Regions from separate parts of the Homo sapiens genome. Here regions 1, 2, 3, 4, 5 and 7 are each linked to region 6. Evidence: promoter capture Hi-C in 16 types of primary human blood cells and fetal thymus (Javierre and others, 2016). All regions are on one chromosome and are shown on one strand. The core of a region is centred on a gene start or on the middle of the fragment in contact, and the rest is flanking DNA. Distances in the headings are between cores, read along the strand shown.

The links. The method cuts DNA at HindIII sites, captures the fragments that hold promoters and counts their contacts. A CHiCAGO score of 5 or more calls a contact.
Region 1: a fragment that was not itself captured here is called in contact with the fragment with the promoter of HS3ST1 in region 6 in 1 of 17 cell types (naive B cells); the score reaches 5.3 in naive B cells.
Region 2: a fragment that was not itself captured here is called in contact with the fragment with the promoter of HS3ST1 in region 6 in 3 of 17 cell types (naive B cells, total B cells and fetal thymus); the score reaches 7.0 in naive B cells.
Region 3: a fragment that was not itself captured here is called in contact with the fragment with the promoter of HS3ST1 in region 6 in 3 of 17 cell types (total B cells, fetal thymus and naive B cells); the score reaches 6.1 in total B cells.
Region 4: a contact is called between a fragment that was not itself captured here and the fragment with the promoter of HS3ST1 in region 6, in 3 of 17 cell types (total B cells, naive B cells and fetal thymus). The highest score is 8.4, in total B cells.
Region 5: a contact is called between a fragment that was not itself captured here and the fragment with the promoter of HS3ST1 in region 6, in 1 of 17 cell types (total B cells). The highest score is 8.7, in total B cells.
Region 7: a contact is called between a fragment that was not itself captured here and the fragment with the promoter of HS3ST1 in region 6, in 3 of 17 cell types (naive B cells, total B cells and fetal thymus). The highest score is 9.7, in naive B cells.

The regions. Positions count from the first base shown.
Region 1 is chr4:10,697,232-10,699,979 of GRCh38, forward strand. It overlaps a transcript of CLNK not described here. Among named protein-coding and RNA genes, the nearest start is that of CLNK, 14 kb to the left of the region's middle. The HindIII fragment of the contact is 4,621 bases long and covers 1-2,748 here.
Region 2 is chr4:10,735,582-10,738,475 of GRCh38, forward strand. It overlaps LINC02498 (long intergenic non-protein coding RNA 2498), which reads left to right and starts at 2,010. Exons shown (of 4, transcript XR_925377.3): 1 at 2,010-2,196; 2 at 2,525-2,894. The HindIII fragment of the contact is 802 bases long and covers 1,052-1,853 here.
Region 3 is chr4:10,717,379-10,720,078 of GRCh38, forward strand. It overlaps a transcript of CLNK not described here. Among named protein-coding and RNA genes, the nearest start is that of LINC02498, 19 kb to the right of the region's middle. The HindIII fragment of the contact is 4,395 bases long and covers 1-2,700 here.
Region 4 is chr4:10,662,573-10,665,379 of GRCh38, forward strand. All of the region lies in intron 2 of CLNK (cytokine dependent hematopoietic cell linker), which reads right to left. Among named protein-coding and RNA genes, the nearest start is that of CLNK, 21 kb to the right of the region's middle. RefSeq lists a silencer at 528-705. The HindIII fragment of the contact is 2,360 bases long and covers 312-2,671 here.
Region 5 is chr4:10,751,929-10,754,628 of GRCh38, forward strand. The region is part of intron 2 of LINC02498 (long intergenic non-protein coding RNA 2498); the gene reads left to right. Among named protein-coding and RNA genes, the nearest start is that of LINC02498, 16 kb to the left of the region's middle. The HindIII fragment of the contact is 1,886 bases long and covers 383-2,268 here.
Region 6 is chr4:11,427,571-11,430,284 of GRCh38, forward strand. HS3ST1 (heparan sulfate-glucosamine 3-sulfotransferase 1) reads right to left here and starts at 1,324. Exons shown (of 2, transcript NM_005114.4): 1 at 1,129-1,324. RefSeq lists an enhancer at 980-1,199 and a silencer at 1,290-1,469. The HindIII fragment of the contact is 3,893 bases long and covers 1-2,657 here.
Region 7 is chr4:10,679,586-10,682,508 of GRCh38, forward strand. All of the region lies in intron 1 of CLNK (cytokine dependent hematopoietic cell linker), which reads right to left. Among named protein-coding and RNA genes, the nearest start is that of CLNK, 3.7 kb to the right of the region's middle. The HindIII fragment of the contact is 5,691 bases long and covers 1-2,923 here.

The sequences.
Region 1 (2,748 bases), core at 227-2,726, 730 kb before region 6:
TCACTGACACTGGATCCGTGCCTTCTCTCACCCCAAAGTTACCTATGAGGAATTCCTGAGTTTTACTGTGGTTCATTTAACATCCGGAGTTCAGAGACATGAATACTTGAGCAGGCCGGGGCTTCGTGAGAACTAAAGCAATGTTAGAAGAGCCCGCATGACTGCCTTAATGAGGAAGACTCTGCTGGAACTGGGGTCAGGGTCTCCAGGAAATTCCAGTCCATCATCTCCCTTGGTGAGCAAAAGAAGCCACTGGTGGTCCTTGCAAGTAGAAGTGCAATGAAAACAGGATTATGGCGATGGATGACAGTGTGAGAGAGAAAAGAATTATCACCTTCTTCCCCTTTCCCAAATAATTCATTCTCTAAGTTCAGCAGTCCAACAAGAATGGCTTCTCATGCCAGAGTAGACTCTTCTTGTATTTAGGACGGCCACTGGGTGTGTAGAGAATAAATTTGCTTTTAATTTTCTGTCTGCTAGCTCCTCCTTGGTGAAGCTGCCTACTGGTTCCCAAACCTAAATTGGCTCTTCACTCTCCTGGGAACATTGAACTGTAACCAATCCTTCTACATTTTGATCTACTCATTCGAACAATAGCCACCTTGCCTTTGCTTTTTTGAATTGTGAGAATAAAACGAGGCTCATCAAAGAATCATGACATATAATATGAATCCAAGAAATTGTAGATACTAATCTTCATCCTCTCCATCATCATGATCATCAAACAGAACCATGAAGACCAGAACAGGATATATGTCTATGGAAGTGCTGACCGTTTTGTGTTAATTTCTGTAACATAAGTAGGTATGTGGGGGTAAAAGCTGCAATAAGCAGATTGTAGTTCGGAATTAAGACCTTTATGAGAGGTGAACATCCATGAACTATTAACTCAGGAGGTGGTTTGTAAATTCCTTGTCTATATAGTCATGTGTCTGTAAATTGGAAGCCTCTGGTGGTGAGAGTGGTGTCATTGGTGGTGGTGATTTTACACTAGATAACATTAAAGACAATTTTCAAACTAGCAATTATAGGGTTTTATTAAACATTATTCTTAATACATTTATAAACATGGTTAAGTTTACAGGAACACTCTGAGGGCAAGGTCCATACTATAGTTGAATCTTTGACCCTTGTACCTGGTGAAATACCCATGCCATTATTACGCCCTTAGTAAATGTTAATTGCTAAGTGAGTACATAAATAAATAAATGGGTGACTACTGGAATAATAAAATGTGACAATATATATAAAACAGGTTTGTTCATATTTCTGAAAATCTGTGAAGCTAATTTTGTTCTTGGTGCTCTCTGCTTTTTCCTTTCATGCTCAGATCCACCTGTCCCTTCTGTCTCTTGATAGAGCTCCTTCCAAAATTCTCACATTTCTCAGATATTTTCACCCCCCAACCAAAATCTTCAAGGAAAGGTCAGGGAACATCTTTCAACTTAAGTAGTGAAAGAGCTCTTGTGAACCCTAATTGCAGCAGTTAGTTTTATGTGTCAACTTGACTGGGCCATGAGGTGCCCAGATATTGGGCCAAACTATATTCTGGGGATTACTGTGCAGGTGTTTCTGAATGAGATTAACATGTGAGTGAGTAAAGCAGATTGCTCTCCCTGCTGCAGGTGGGTAGGTCTCATCTGATCGACTGAACACCTAAACAGAACAAGATGGCTGAGTAGGAGGGAACTCTTTTTGTCATGGCGGCTTGAGTGGGGACATTGGTCTTTTCCAGCCTTCAGACTCAGACTTAAAGTTGACTCTTTCTTGGTCTCAAGGGTGCCAACTTTTGAACTAGCACTTACACCATTGGCTTTCCCAGTTTTCATACCTTTGAACACACACTGGAACTACACGTCAGGTTTCCTGGGTCTCTAGCTTGCTGATGGCAGATCCTAGAACTTTCTCAGCCTCCATGATCGTATGAGCCAATTCCTTACGTTTCTTTCTCTCTCTCTCTGTCTCTTAAACACACACATACACACCACATATGTGTGTGTATACACACACATACACACCACGTATGTGTGTATACACACACACACACCACATACGTGTATACACACACACACCACATACGTGTATACACACACACCACATACGTGTGTGTATACACACACACACACACAGTCATCCTTCCTATTTGTGAGGATTGGATATAAAAACCCATGGATGTTCAAGTCCCTTACATAAAATGACATTGTATTTGTATATAACCTATGTACATCCTCTCTGTCTCTCTCTCTCTCTCTCTCTCTCTCTCTATATATATATATATATATTTTTTTTTTTTTTTTTCTGAGACGGTTTTGCTCTTGTTGCCCAGGCTGGAGCACAGTGGCACCATGTCAGCTCACTGAAACTTCCACCTCCCAGGTTCAAGCAATTGTCCTGCCTCAGCCTCCAAAGTAGCTGGGATTACAGCTGCCTGCCACCACACCCTGCTAATTTTTGTATTTTTTAGTAGAGATAGGGTTTCACCATGTGGGCCAGGCTGCTCTTGAACTCCTGACCTCAGATGATCCATCCGCCTCAGCCTCCCAAAGTGCTAGAATTATAGGCATGAGCCACGGCACCCCGCCACTCCATATATTTTAAATCAGCTCTAGATTACTTATAATACTTAATACAATATCAATGCTATGTACATAGTTCTTATACTGTATTTTTATTGGTATTATTTTTCATTGTTGTACTGTTATTTTCCTCTAATATTTTTTAATCTGTGGTTGGTTGAAACTTGTGGAT
Region 2 (2,894 bases), core at 203-2,702, 690 kb before region 6:
GTTTAAAAAGTAGAACAAAATTGTATAAGTTTTCATATATGCAAGACTAATAAGTTCTAGAGATTTTTTTGTACAGCATAGTGCCTATAGTCATCAATACTCTAGTACGAATTTAAAAAATTAATGTCAAGTTTTCTTACCAAATAAACAAATAAGCAAATAAAACAAAAAGAACACAAGAAAAATTTAGAGGTGCAGGATATGTTTATTGCCTTAATATTGGTGTTTTTTTTTTCTTGTTATTGTTTGTTTGTTTTGAGACAGAGTCTCGCTCTGTCACCCAGGCTGGAGTGCAGTGGCATGATCTCAGCTCACTACAAACTCCGCCTTCTGGGTTCAAGCAATTCTCCTTCCTCAGCCTCCCAAGTAGCTGGGATTACAGGTACTCACCACCATGCCCGGCTAATTTTTGTATTTTTAGTGGAGATGGGGTTTCACCATGTTGGCCAGGCTGGTCTCAAACTCCTGACTTCAAGTGATCTGCCTGCCTCAGCCTCCCAAAGTGCTGGGATTACAGGTGTGAGCCACCGCACCCAGCCATTGCCTTAATATTGTGGTGATGGCTTCACAGGTATGTCCAAAATCATCACATTGTATACATTAAATATGGGCAGTTTATTGTATACAAATTAGGCCTCGATAATGCTTTAAAAAAATCTCAATAAATAAAAATGGGCAGTGGTATGAACAGCATGGTGCATCCATGAAAATTCAAGCTGTTTTGTGGGCCAGGGTCATTTCAGGTCGGCATAGCCTGTGACGGGAAGAGTGAGGCTGAAGAGGTTGCTGGGGTCTATGTCATCATGAGCACACCTTCTCTATGTTAAACAGTTGAGATCTTATTCTGCCAGTTATGGGGTTCCTGGTCTTTGTCCTATTTATTAGCATCAGGGTGAAATGTGAGATTATAAAATAAGGCTTGGCAGACAGGAAAGACAGAATAACAAGAACATGAGGGAGGACAGGCTTAGAAATTAGTGGGTGGCAAGTTAGCAGCCTCAGCTCTTTCATCAAGGAGCTGGGCTCAAGCTACATGTTTGGCTTTTGCGGAAGCTTCTATTTGAGGATAGAAGGATAGCCAAGAAGGAAAGTTGGGGGCTCAGTCTTTGAAAGATTGGGGATCATGGGAGTAATGGGTTATTAAAAGAGGCTTGAATCCAAGGGTTGGGGCAGCAATCTAGTTATCAATCTTGGAGCACAGGGGACAGGAAGGAGACTCAGGCTTAGAGCAGTACTGGACCATCATGAGAGCAATTGTCCAGCACCTGGCAGAAGGTTGGGTAGCCAGAAAAAAGCTGAATTGACACTCAGAACTTGCAGCTAATACATTACCTGTAACCTTAGCAGAGCAAAGGGGCACACATTATGCCACTTCAGAGACCTGAGTTTCAATCCCCACCAGGCCCTTTGTGCCTACATGAGTTTGAATACATATGGCTGTGCCACAGGAGACTGAGCAGCCGATTCAACAAGATGAGAGTAGAGACTGGTGAGCAGCAAGGGCAGAAGAGCCCCTCCAGTGGCAGGGGGAGAACCTGCGGTTGTCTTGCCAGCTTTGCCTGCTCTGTGCTCTTGGCCTCTCCCTCATTCTCATAGCCAGGGCTTTTGGAATTGAAACAGAAAAGTGGGATTTAAGCAGTTCCAAAATGACAGTCCTAGGTTCACTATCAGGCAAATCTTGTGAGCTCCAGTTTTGATTAATACAGCATCTGGCCCACGTCCCCAGCCTATGTCCAAATGGTTCAGGTATTGCCCAGCCGAACGACCTTGGCAAGTGTCAGGAACTCTCTGAGCACCTAATTCATCATCTACAAAACAAAGAGAATAATTCCAACTTAATAGAGGTGACATAAAGCTTTCTTAAGGATATTGGTGAAATGCACATACCACCCACTACACATCTTTACTAAATGCTCAACCAACGTGATGGTTGCTACGGTGACAATGATGGTGATTATGATGTGTGCTGACCTCTTGTTCTCTGTGAGTCAGACTTTGGTAGCCTCCTTACTTGCTCCACTTGCTTCAGAGAGAGAAGTGCGGGTTTGCGGTTTAGTGAAGGAGCAAGGCTCATGTGAATAGAAGAATCCAAGGTAGAGCAGGAAGAGAAATCCAGCTAGAGAAAGAGGTGGAAGTCAAAATAAGTAGACTCTTATTTTAAATTTTTAATGGCTTCTTGGTGGCTTCAAGATAAAAGTAAGTATACAATTACAATGCAAAGATAGTATTCAAATGGGGAGTTGAATGGGGAGTTCATTAGGTAAGTTGAGTTAACTCACAGGATTGATTCCTTTTCATGACATAAAACCATCTGTGTTTTGGGTAGTGTGAATTGTGAATTGAGAACTCCCCCTCGCCCTTCTCTCAGCCTGTGTTACTTTTTCTTTATCTTTGACTCTGTATCATTAACATTTCACATATCTGATTTTATTATAATTTTCTATTTATCTCATTTTCCCACCAGACAATGAATTCTTTGGAGGTGAGCACTACATGTATATTTTACCTTTGTTTCTCTGCACAGGATAGACAATGAGGAGCTTTGTGTTTGGGAAAAGAATAAAAGTCAACTGTAGCAAAACCTCTCAGAAGTAGGATTTATAAACAGTTCTCAAAGGATGCACATGAAAATGTAATTTCTTGGGAAAGTGGCAAACAGAAAAGAATCAAACCGCAGTTGTGTGTGGCAAGGATAAATATGCAACGCACCATCAATAGGATTTGTTGGGTGAATAAAAAAGCCTTTTAGCCAACAATATGTAAGCAGAAGAATGGAGCAGGAGTTAGAGAGAACCCTCAAGCAATAATGGAGGCCACTGGAGAGGCAAGACTGCCAAAGGCTAAGTTATTGACCCAGTATTTTTAAAACTGCCTCCGAAAAGAAGCCTGAACGA
Region 3 (2,700 bases), core at 28-2,527, 710 kb before region 6:
TGAGGCCAAGAGTTTGAGACCAGCCTGGGCAACTTAGAGAAACCCCGTCTCTATTAAAAATACAAAAATCAGCCGGATGTGGTTATGCACGCCTGTAATTCCAGCTCCTCGGGAGGCTGAGGCAGGAAAATTGCTTGAACCCGGGAGGCAGAGGTTGCAGTGAGCTGAAATGGCGCCATTGCACTCCAGCCTGGGTGACAGGGCGAGACTCCAAAAAACAAAACAGAAAAGCTGTATGAGGCACTCCCACCCCACTGGTAAAGGGAGGTATCAATGGAGCCAGGTGAGAAATCTGGACTTCAATACCCACACTATCCCTGGGAGCCTCTTTCTTTCCCTTGTCAGAGTGGTATCAGTGGAAACCAGCTAAAACACGAAGTTTAAGTAAAATCCAGAGTCTCATAATATAATACCTGGAATATGCAGTTTTCAATAAAAAAGTCATTATACCAAGAACCATAAAATTTCAGTTGGTGAGAAAAAGACAATCAATAGATGCCAACAGAGATGTAAGACTTATCTGATGAAGATTTCAAAGAGTCATCACAAAAATGCTTCAATGAGCAATTACAAACATGCTTGAAACAAATGAAAAAATAAGAGTCTTAGCAAAAACAGCAAAGTCTTATAGAAAATAGAATAAATAGAGAAGAACAAATGGAAATTTTAGAAGTGAAAATACAATAACCAAAATTAAAATAAAACAAAATTCTATACAAAACCTCAATCTATGGGCTCAACAGCAGAACGGAAGAGTCAGAGTAAAGAATCAATGAACTGGAAGTAGAACAATTAAAACGTGTTGGATCTAACATTCATGCCATTGGAGCCCAAGAAAGAGAGGAGAAAGAGGGAAGGGTTGAAAGAAATACTCAGAGAAATAAATACTGACAACTCTCCCATTTTGTAAATACATAAATCCACATATTCAAGAAGCTAAATGAACCACAAACACAAAAAACCCAAATAGTCATTTTCTGAAAACTAAAGACAAAGAAAAAATCTTGAAAGCAGCAAGAGAGAAACAATATCATATAAAGAAAAAGTACGTTGATTGGCAGTGAATTTCTCATCGGAAACCATAGAGACCAGAAAAAAAGTGGCACAATATTTTTTAAGTCCTGAAGAAAATAAGATAACTGTAAAGCCAGCATTTTATATCTAGTAAAATATCTTTCAGGAATGAAGGAGAAATTAAAATATTCTCAGATAAAGAAAAACAAAAAAAAAACTAGAAGAATTCGTCACTAGCAGAAGCAGACCTGTTTTAACAAATGGCTAAAGGAAGTTCTCTAAACAAAACAACAAAAAAAATATGTTAAGAAATCTTGGAACATCAGAAAGAAAGAAATAACACAGTAAGCTAAAATATGGATAAACAAAATAGATTTTTCTTGTTCTCTTGAGTCTTCAAAATTATGTTTAATGGTAAAGCAAAAATTACAACCCGTCTAATATGTTCTAAATGTATATAAAGGAAATATTCATGATAATTATATTATAAATGGAAGGTGGAAGGAGAGATGGGAAAGGAGGTAATTTTTCCATATTTTATTTGAACTGGTAAAATGACAACACCAGACTGTGTTGACTGTAGTAAATGTTGAATGTATAATGCTAATACCTAGAGCAAGCACTAAAAATAATAAATAAACCTCTTCAAAAAGATACAGTCAAAAACTCCATAGATAAATCAAAATGTAATTCTAAAAAAGTTTTTAAATAACACACAGGAAGGCAGGAAAAATAAAACAGAAATGAAAACAGAAAGAATAAACAGAAAACAGAAAATAAAATAGCAATCTTAAGCCCTAACGTATCAGTAGTCATACTAAGTGTAAATGGTCTAAATACACTAATTAAAAGACAGATATTAGCAGAGTGGATTAAAATATATAGGCCAACTATATGCTTACTAAAAGAAACTCATGTCAAATATAATAATACAGGCAGTTTGAGAGTAAAAGGATGGAAAATGTATAAATCTTTTAATTTTAATTAATTTACAAAGATTAATCAAAAGAAAGAGTGACTGTATTAACATTAGATAAAGTAGACATCAGAGAAAAGAAAATTACCAGAGATAGAGAGGAACATAATATGATAAAAGGGCCAACCCACTAAGAAGACTTAACTGTCCTAAATGTGTGTGCATACACACACAAAGAAACAGAATTATAAAATATATGCACTGAAAATGGATAGAATTAAAAGAAGAAATAGATGAATTCACAATTGCAGATGGAGACTTCAATACTCTTCTCTCCATAATTGATAGAAAAAACCCAAGAGAAAACTATCAAGGGTATAGAAGAACTCAACAAAACCATCAACCGTAGCATCGAATCAACCTTTGTAGAATACTCCATCCGATGATGGCAGAATAACATTCTTCTCAAGTGTCCATAGAACATATATCAAGACAGACCACATCCTGGGACATAAAACAAACCTTGGCAAACTTAAAGTATTTAAAATCATACAGAGCCAATGTGGAATCAAACTGGAAATCAGTAACAAAGATACCAGAAAAATCCCCAGACACTTTCAAACTAAGCTACAATTCTAAATAACCCATGGGTCAAAGAGGATGTCTCCGTGGAAATTGAAAAAAAAATTCATTGAGTTGAATGAAAATGAGACTGTAACATAAAAACTTTGTAGGCTATGACTAAAACAATGCTGAGAGGGAAATTTAGA
Region 4 (2,807 bases), core at 242-2,741, 760 kb before region 6:
GAAGGGGTGAGAAACCTTATTTAAGTCATAGCTCAAAACACCATGATTTTAAAGAAAATTTAATCATGTAAGACAATGTTCAGAAAAGGAAACATTGTTATTAAATGAATGACTTAAAACAATGAGTTTTAAAAGTAGATTTTCTAAAATTTTAAGATATTACACATAGATATAGAAAAATAAACTAAGACAACTGTAGCAAGTTAGTGCTGGGTGTTAGGATAATTGGCAATTTTCATTCTTCTTTGTAATTTGTATATTTTCTAAAATTTCCGTCAATACTGGAGACAATTTCACCAATGAACAAAACAAGCTTAATAACTGCTTAAGCCTTATTTCAAAGTGGACACTCTGGAGACCTTTGCTCTCTGATCTATCCCCAATCTGGGATGTGCAAGAGTGACTTTCACCCAAATTCCCAAAAGAGCCTGGGTGGCCAGTGCAGGGCATTGGCTTACTGGAAAGAGCCCAGAAGCAATCACTCAGGTGACTTTGTCTCTTCCAAAGCACTCAGAACCACAGCGTCAAGGTTCTTATCAGTCCTGTCCAGAATGATGAAGAGGTACTGGAAACCAAACCCCAAGATGCCCTTATCTAGCCCCAGCGGTGTAATGGGGCCGCTAGTGGGTCTGTCTGCTCTTCTCTAATAGCACCGAGGAATGAGGCTTTCTGAAGTTTAATGGATTGCTAGGGAAGCTGCAAGTTTTGTTGCAGGGAAAGTCAATGAAAAATAGCCTGCTAATTTCCGAAGCAATTTAGAATCATGACATCCGGATCCCTTCTTAGTACTTGTGGAGTTTTCTCATCACTCTCTATGTAATACGGAAATAATTCTCTTTACATATGGCTAATGCTCTTTGAGGGCAGGGACTAGATCTTATTCAACTTTATAAATGAGGTGTGTGAAATGTATACTCAATAAATAAATTTGTATATGATTTATGTATACTCAATAAATGCTTTTGACTGAACTGATACAATCATATAAAAACATATGTGTGCATGTGCTTGTATTGTATGTCTGCATACATATACATGCATATATACCCATAGGTTCACATACACATGTACATATACAATATATATTTCTATATCATCCATTCATTTATACTTATAAAATTTTCATTGTAAAAGTGCTTAGTGAGAGATAGTCCTATGATTTAAATGTTTGTGAACCCCTTAACTTCATATGTTGAAAGCTAATCACCAAGGTAAGGGTATTAAAAGGTGGGGCCTTTGGGGGCTGATTAGGCCAAGAGGGCAAAACTCCCGTGAAATGAGATTAGCACCCTTATAAAAGAGGTCCCAGAGACATTCCTTGCCTTCTTTACCATGTGAAGACACAGCAAGCAGACGGCTGTCTATGAATCAGGAAGCACTCTCACCAGACACTAAATCTGCTAGCCCCATGTTCTTGGACTTCCCAGCTCCCAGAACTGTAAGAAATAAATTTCTGTTGTTCCTGAGTTACCCAGTCTGAGCTATTTTGTTATAGCCACCCGAGAAGACTAAGGCAGATAGTAAGGAATTAGTCATAGTTACAAAGTCTGCTTAGGATTCCAGGTTATAAAATTGTAAGAAATTCCAGATTATAGAATTATGAGACATTATTCCACAAAACTGGATGTAGATTACATTCAGTTGAGCATTAACAAGTAAAAAAAAAAAAGGAATGATGTCTGACTATTCTGGTTTCTTTGCTTTGGGGAAGGACACTGAAATTGTTTTTGTTTAAAGCCTCCCTGATGATTCTAACGCTCCTTCAGGTTTAAAATCTACTACCTTGAATTGACTGGGTTAATAATTTTGACAAAGGAAGTGAGAACTACCCCACAAGGCACAGCAAAAGGAAAACCTCTGTGTGTGTGGTGATGGGGGGCACACATTTCCAAACTACACTCACACCCAGCCTGACATGTGGCTCCTTCTCTGAGTCATGCCTTGGCGACTGCTGTGGATAAGTTCTCAAGTGTGCCAGGAAGGAAACGGTGCTGGGAACTCCTGTTCTAGTTCAGCACTTCTCAGGCTTTAATGTGTCCAAGAATCAACCGAGGATCTTGTAAAAGTATGGATTCCGACTCAGCATGCCTGGGCTGGGCTGTAGCAGCTGAGATTCTGTGTTTCTAACAAGCTCCCTGGTGATGCTGACACTGCTGCTGTGCAGCCTGCCCTTAGATCAACAGCATCTCCCAGCTCAGGACACCCTGGACAGGAAACCCGAAGGTGGAGAATAAAATGTGGAGTGTACTAGGGCATCTTACCTTTCATTTGTGTGGTGCCAGCTTATGCATTTCTCTTTAATGTGTAAGCGTACTGATGGAGGCGTTCTAATTTTAATATTTACTTTTTACTTTGGGGCAGGCCAGCAGCAATCCCATACGGATTGACTGGCCTGAGGGTGCACAAGAGGAAAGAGTGAAGAAGAGTTTGGGACTAGGGGAGGAAAAGGATGCTCTGAGCTTTAGGAAAGAAGAAGAGTTATTCTTCAAGGCAGGTTCCTAATGTTGAGGTGTCAGATAGTCAAGTGTGAAGGCTCCCCGTGGACTCATCCTAATGGGAGGAAGCTAACATTTGTGAAATGGTGACGGTTTGGCTGTCCTCTGGCCTACGCATTGCCAGCTTCAAATCTAAGGTGACTGTAAAGCTGAAATCACAAAGTTTCCCTTTGGAAAGCTTGGTGAGAAGCCATGTTCAACAGAGACCAACTCCCTGGCTAAAAGACAAAGCCACTGAAAGTCCTCATAAAAGGGGAAAACCTCTCCTCTTACAGAAGAGGCCCTTGGCATAGGGTGGAATCATTAAAAGAC
Region 5 (2,700 bases), core at 76-2,575, 680 kb before region 6:
ACAGAGGCAACTGGAGGTGCAAAAGCAAATGGGCATGGATTTATTAGCCTGATTTGATCATTCCATAATGTATACAGGTATTGAACATTACATGGAACCCTATAAATATATACAACTATTATTTGCCAATTAAAAATAGAATCACGCTTAAAAAATACACAAATGGGCACGGACCAGCATGATGTCTGAAGAAAGACGACAAAAGGAATTGAGCAGTGCTGCAGTTGAACATGAAATGGGTGAACAGGTTCAGCCTCTACATTTTGCAGTAGGGCTGCAAAACAAGAGATGAGACAAGGAAATGAATATTAATGTTATTGAATACTGAGGTGGGATCAACACAGACACTAGAAAACACTCAAATACCTAAGACTTATAGTTAAGCTTGGCTTACTCCAGTTCATTACTTTGGGATGATTTAACTAAATAAACCATTTAAAAATCTTAAAACATTTTTAATTAATTTCCAGAGGCATAGTGGATGCACTTATATATCCCCTATCCAAATATTAATCCCCACTCATTGTTAAGTCTTGAAATAAATACAGATACTTTAAATCCTGGATTGGTAAAGTTAACATTCATTCTTTGAAGAAAAAAAGCAAAAAAACTCAACACTGTTAAATCATACCTCTAATTAAAATTAGGAAGAGATTTAAATTAATATCCAGATATAAGCCAACAGCTCAAAGAAATTAATACAAATGTCAGGAAATGGTTATATTTTCCAGCAAATACCATTAATATATTCTAAACACACCTGCTTCAGACTGCAGTTGACCGTGCAGGACGTCACTCCTGTAATCACTTAGAAAGGGACTGACTGAGCAAAGACATTTCAATTCTGGAGACTTATTCTCAAAACTTGTATTTGACGTTTTCAAAAATGAAGATAGGTTAAATTAATGGCCCCAGCTGTATCCCTGAAATTCCTCTCCATGTGTGCCAAAGATCTTTTTGTTTGTTTGTTTGTGTTTATTTTAAATGGAGTCTTGCTCTGTTGCCAGGCTGGAGTGCGGTGGCACGATTTTGGCTCACTGCAACCTCCACCTCCCGGGTTCAAGCAATTCACCTGCCTCAGCCTCCTGAGTAGCTGGGACTACAGGAGCACGCCACCATGCCCAGCTAATTTTTGAATTTTTAGTAGAGATGGGGTTTCACCATGTTGGCCAGGATGGTCTTGATCTCTTGACCTTATGATCTGCCCGCCTTGGCAAGATGTCTTTTTAACAGCATTCAAGATATTCATCAACCTGGCAGAAATTCTGGGGACAAGTTATGCTTTTTGCCATTAAGGCATGCCTCATTTGCAAACCTTGAGTCCACAGACTGCCCTGGATGGACAAATTGGGATTGTGTCCAAGAAGGCCGGAGGTTGGCCCTAGGATAAACCATACCTCCTCTTCCTATCTCTAAAGTTGAAATTGAATTGTCATGAACATTACTTCGCGTGGTGGCCGTGTGTGCACAATGTATACGGAGCTCTGTCCTCTCATTTGATTCTTTCCCTGCTGCCCAGGAGAGGGCCCACCTCCATTGCCTTTCCCTCAGACTCTCACATGGGCTTGTTAGCTCATCTTCCCCTCTCCGGTGTGGCTCTACTCCAAGTCCTTCTTTATGCTGCTGAACTATTAACTTGAATGAGTATCTGAATAATCTTTTATGAACTTCCTGTTGGCTGTAGGATAAATGATCACATGCTTTAGCTCTGCATTCATAATGAGACCCAGCATCTTTTTCCAAAAATGGCCTTCTAGTCAAGCTGCTTCCAGCCTCCAGGCCATCCCAACTCTGTCCCTGCTCTGTCCCTTTGAGCATGCTGACTCTCTGCCTGATAGTTCACGTTGCTGTTTCTTGCTCAACTCAAGAAACAAAACAAAAATGCTTCCATCGAGAAACTTCCCAAGATTCTCTGAAAGGTGGATAGCCTGACCCTTGCCTCCTGCATAAGTGGCCCTCTCTAAATTGACTGGGGACTCCTTGAGAAAGAACCTATGCTTTATTATTCTTGGTCACCAGAGTGAAGCCTAGAACCTGGCATGAAGTCCATGTTTGGTAAATGATGGCTGGATTCCACTGGAATTATGGGCCAGGTGTCAACCACGCTGAGATACATGTGAGTGGCCTTTCCTGTTTCCTCCTGGCAATTCTGAGAGGCTTAACTGAGCTGAGCAAGAGGCAGAGTTCAGTTAATTTTGTTCCATGATCTGCAGGCATGTGATAGGGGATGGAAGATCACAGTCATTCAAAGAAGGACTCGCAGCATGAAGCTTAAAGCCATGCATATGGGCTGCATCATAGGCTGATCCCACAGGCCCTGGGGATTTTCTCCTCTCAAGCTGTGAGTCTCTGTGGCAACCACATTTCCCAAAGCTTCTTTCAGGGGAAAGAGACTATTTTAGGTAATGAAGACTTTGGTCACATTTCAAACATACCATTCTTAGGGAAAACAAAAATTGGAGTCTTTCTTCCTAAAAACTTTCCCATTCTCTTTACTCCTCTTTGTACTTAATCCAGTACCTCTGTGCTGAAGGAGGCTGCTGGAGCCAGGAAAGGACTCTCTCTAACACCTGGAAATGCTCCAAAATGCCTATGGTGGGTGAAGTGTAGAGCAAACCCCCTCACTTCACTCCCAAAGCCTGTCTCATTTTGGCATTAGGCTACATAACCACCCTTTTCTCTCCCTGCTAAGTCAAAATG
Region 6 (2,714 bases), core at 74-2,573:
GTGGGAAAGGGAGGAGCGAGACTCGCGCAAGGCGAGGCAAGGGTACCACTGGATCTGCAAAGGAGGAGGAAGAGGGAGGATGCAACCCTTGGCCCAAGAGAGCGCCCTGAGTGTGCGAGGAATCGCTGGCTCCCAGGGGAGGGAAAGAGATGGAAGACCTATAGCGCCTATAACTGCAGAGTTATAGACCTATAACTGCAGAGCCCAGCACACCCCATCCCGCGCCGGCACCCGGCTTTGGCTCCAGCTTCTTCTTCCCATCATCCGCCTACGTTCTGGGTCTGTCCTCCGCTTCCTGGGACAGGCTGGGGCTAGAAGGAGGAGCAGCGCGCCGTCCGCCCCCTGGCTGGTAGAGCGCACCTGGAGAGGTCAAGCTCCGCGAATAAGACCCTTCCTGGGAGCTGGGGTCTAGGCGTTCCAACCGCGGGTTCGCACCCCGCCATCCCTCACCTCCATCCGCTGCCACTACCCAAGGGCCCGGAAATAGAAAACCACGAAGGGGGAAAAAAATCAGTAAAAAGTAACAAGAAAAAAATCAAGACCCTCATGTAATTGGCATTAGGGATGAGAGGTTTATTGTCAGGGCTGTCACCTCAATCTCTCTCTTTGGGAGATGCCTATCTCCAACCAAATGCAAAGGCAAACCCGACCAAGGCTTCTCCACCCCCAAAGGCTCCCTCAGCCGAGTTACTTTTGCGGGCTGTGTCCTCGCCCCAGTTTCTGGCCCCAGGTGGTACCCAGGATCCGTTGAGTGCTGCGCTCTCGCTGCCCTACAGGGTCCTATGGTGAAGCTGCGGTCGCGAAGCGGCCGGCAGGAGCGAACCTCACGACTCTGCAGGGGGGGAAAACATCCAACCCAGTAAGAGTCAGAAATCTGGGTCCCTGTCCTTACAGATCAACCGGTCCCTCGGGACTTCCAGAGCAGAGGTGCTAGGGCAGGAGGTGAGGAGGATGGGAAAATCCCCAGCCTTTGCTTCCTGGTTCCCTCTGCATCCACTCCACCTGCTCCAGCCTCGATTCTTCTTAGGTTCTGCACTTGCCCGAAGTCCAGAACGCCAGACAAAGGCACCTCGGAGCCCTCTACACCTGCGTCCTGCCACTCTCCCACCCCGCGCGCGCCGCACTCACCTGAGCCGCGCCTCTGTCCAGCCCGTCCGGCGCCCTAAATAGGCTCCTAGGCTGGGCCATGGGCAGCACTGCCGAGCACCCGCGGCGGGTAGAGCAAGTTTCTGGATGGCCCGGGGCAGGCGGGCGGGGAGAAGGCGCAGGCACCCACTGAGACCCGGCTGTCGTGGCGGCGACTCCTGGCTGCCAGGGCGCAGAGGACCTTGCAGGCGGGCGTTTTGGTGCTCAATCCCGAGGAGGGGGAGGAGCGGGAGGAGGAGCGGGAGCAAAAGGAGGGGACGGAGGAGGCCGGGCCCGGAGGGAGAGCGCGTTGGGCAGAGGAGGATCGCGAGCGCCCACTGCTGCCCGGCCCGCTCGGGTGCCGCCCAGAGTCCGGCCCGCTAGGTGCCTGGTGCTCCGCTCTGCGCTCAGCTGCTCCGCACAGCCCCGCCTGGCACGCAGCTCCAGCGGCTGGTCGGGTAGTAGTCGGTCCCGCCCACCCGGTGCGGTGGCCCCTGGGGTTTCAGTCCAAGGGGAGGGACCAGCGCTCCAAGAAGGTGAGGCTGCTGGGATGGGTGACTCCGCCGTCACTGCAAACACGGGACGTCCCGTCTACTCCCTTACGCCTGCTTGGTCTGAGCCCGAGTCTACCTCTTCTCTAAGTCGCCAGCTCGGCACTTGTACCCGGGACCTGTGCTCCTCCCACGTGAGTCTGCACCATGCGTATTCCCTTCCTGGCAGGTGACCCACCTTAGGCGCTGGCGCTCCTTCCGCCCCCCGGGAAGCAGGAGGTGCCATCCTCTCCAATTCGCTCTGCAGCCGGACTGGGACCGGAGCGGCGGCCTGGGCCAGAATCCGCGTGAGGAGCCGGCTTCAAAGAGCGCCCTGTCGCCATTGAACACTCCTTTTCCTTTGGTTTAGCGTCGGAGAGCGGACGCCAATTTGCCAGGAGAGCGCGGAAAATTCAGCTTTTTTTTTTTTTTTTTTTTTTTTTTTTTTCCGCTAGTGCACTAGGATTGCAAACGTCAGCTCTGAAATAAAAAGCAGGATATTTCTGCCCCGCTCCTCTATTCCGGAAGCTGGGAGGTTCTGTGGGAGAAAGGACCTGCACCCAATAACTCAATTTAAGATTTAAGGTTTTGAGGGGCGTGGGGTTGGAATCGCCTTGGAGAAACGGGTTTGCCTGCTTACCTGAGCCAAAGGAAGTTGCCCTCAAAGGCAGGTCAGCAATCATACCCCGCCAAAAGCAAATGCACATCAAAGTAACTTCCTTTAAATGAGATTACTGTAGTTTCCATGTCTTCCACATTAGTAAATAAATATTTGGAAGACTTCGAATTTGTGATTTACGTTTAAATATATTTCACCAACATTGTTTAATTAAAAAAAAATCCCATCTAAGAGAAGGTTCCTATAGGAAATTGGCCCTTTAACTCATACACAGATTACCCTCGGCACTTTCAGAAAACAACACAGTGACCAGTATATTCTGTCTTTTTGATACAGCCAGAAGCACCCTGAAAGCTGAGACCTAACTGTGCTTTTGGAAAATAAGCTTTTAGGAGTTGAATGACCTTGTCTACTTCTTTTAGTCAGAATAATGTTGGCAT
Region 7 (2,923 bases), core at 11-2,510, 750 kb before region 6:
GAATAGGAGAAAATTTTTGCAATCTACTCATCTGACAAAGGGCTAATATCCAGAATCTACAATGAACTCAAACAAATTTACAAGAAAAAAAACAAACAACCCCATCAAAAAGTGGGCAAAGGATATGAACAGACACTTCTCAAAAGAAGACATTTATGCAGCCAAAAAACACATGAAAATATGCTCATCATCACTGGCCATCAGAGAAATGCAAATCAAAACCACAATGAGATACCATCTCACACCAGTTAGAATGGCGATCATTAAAAAGTCAGGAAACAACAGGTGCTGGAGAGGATGTGGAGAAATAGGAACACTTTTACACTGTTGGTGGGACTGTAAACTAGTTCAACTATTGTGGAAGTCAGTGTGGTGATTCCTCAGGGATCTAGAACTAGAAATACCATTTGACCCAGCCATCTCATTACTGGATATATACCCAAAGGATTATAAATCATGCTGCTATAAAGACACATGCACACGTATGTTTATTGCGGCACTATTCACAATAACAAAGACTCGGAACCAACCTAAATGTCCAACAATGATAGACTGGATGAAGAAAATGTGGCAGATATACATCATGGAATACTATGCAGCCATAAAAAATGATGAGTTCATGTCCTTTGTAGGGACATGGATGAAGCTGGAAACCATCATTCTCAGCAAGCTATCGCAAGGACAATAAACCAAACACCGCATGTTCTCACTCATAGGTGGGAATTGAAGAATGAGAACACATGGACGCAGGAAGGGGAACATCACACACTGGGGCCTGTGGTGGGTTGGGGGGAGGGGGGAGGGATAGCATTAGGAGGTATACCTAATGCTAAATGATGAGTTAATGGGTGCAGCACACCAACATGTCACATGTATACATATGTAACAAACCTGCACGTTGTGCACATGTACCCTAAAACTTAAAGTATAATAATAATTAAAAAAGAAGACAAAAAAGGGACAAAGGCCAAGAATCTAAGGAAGGTTTGTTTAAATATAAAATAAACTCATAATAATAATGCTAAGAATGATGATAATAGCCACTACCATTTACTTTGTATTTAATAATTACTAGTCACCATGATATGCATTTTTATGTACTGAATCTCATTTCTCACCACAAATTCGAGCAGTAGATATTTTTATTCCATTTTATAAAGGATAAACAGAGGTTCTGAGGAGTTAAATAACTTGTCTAAAACCATATTGCTAGGAAGTAACTGATTTCAAACCCACACTATCCATGTCTCAACGACTGGATGGCGTGGTATAGTGAAAACAGCATGTATCAGAAGTAGGAGTTTGGGATGGGGACTGTGTGGAGGTGTCCTGTGTAAAGAGTCCAGACAGATAAAGCTGATCGGGAGATCCCTAGACTTGCCCATGAGTGAGGACGTCCTGATATATATATATATATAAATTTCTACAGGTAACCATGGGGCAGACTGGCTTTCCAGGTGCCTGCCAAGGCATCAGACCACCCATAGCTCAGCAAATCCAGCTTTTGAAATTACACAGCTCTGACTTAGTGCTCAACAAGCTACTGCCCAATATCAATTTAGTTTCCTGTGTACATTTGTCTCCTGGGAGGGAATATGCCAATCATCTGAACTTATAATTTGAGTACACTTGAACAAAATCACCAAAGATGGATACATAGGTCAAAGTACCAGAGTGAACTGACCTCTTGAGCTCCATCAACTCTGTGTGCCTTGGATACAATTAGCTTTCTGGGTCTTCAAAACTGATGGTGAAATGTGGTCCTTAGGCAGTCCACAAAAATTCAGCCCTCTCAGAGTTTGGGCCTAGGCTATTAGTCAGCCCTTATCTTTATCTTACACGAAATTGAACACAGAACCTACCACTGTTAAAGATTATCATCCAATCACATGGATATTAAATTTTCATGTTGTATCTAGACCTTTTGGCTCATCTTAGTTCAAATGACAAACCACAGTACCATTTAAACACAATAGGATTTTGATTCTCATGCATAAGTGTTTAGGAAGCAGTGTTTCAATTAGTATCACCAATGAAATTTAAAAGAAACAACTAAAATACATATTTTGCTAATGCTTGTGGTGTATCTGGGAGTTCCTTAAATGCTGTTGACTAGTTTGGAAGACAGTGATTGATGCCCTGATCATGAACCTGGGAACATCAGCAGGGTACTCATGGAGCACCATGCCGAGAGCAGGAGCTCGGGGCTCGGGTGGACCTGGGTCTCATTTCTGGCATATCCTCCTATTCATTGCATGAAATGGACAATGCATGGAGCCTGCCTGAACTTCAGAATCCGTTTTGTAAAGTAAGAATTAAGTACACCTACTTAAAAAGTGAGAAATGATGAGCGTTTCTTGTCTATCAGCAACACTTAAATGGTAACCTGTAAGTCATTGCTCTTTGGAAGACATGATTAAAATTAAGCAGAATAATCACAATAATGATTCCCAAATATTCTGCCCATAAGAGTAACAAAAAATAAATAATAAACACAAAAATTGGTCCTATGATAGCTCTATTCCACAATTCTGTTTGTGTGTGTGTATGTGTGTGTGTGTGTGTGTGATTTTTTCGTTATTGCTGATATCTAACCTGATGCTTCTCAGTTTTATTGGTAAAATCGTGAATGTTTGGTTTAATCTGTTAAAAATCATAAATAGAATTTAAATTCAGGTATTTATCTCTCTGGTTAGTAATTTAGCCGCTTTGAACACTTTATGTTTCTTTGTCATGCTAGGAGGGTAGGTACAGCCTAGAAGAACTCTGCAGAACTCAAGTCTTGGCAGATGTTGGCAGTAGCTTATGACAGTGGATATAACTGCTCCATGTACTAGGATTCAGAAAAGGATGCTTCTAGATCTCTGTCTGCTACTCTTCATGTGAAAATTTAGCCAGTTCCTGGCTATCTCTTCTGTGTCAG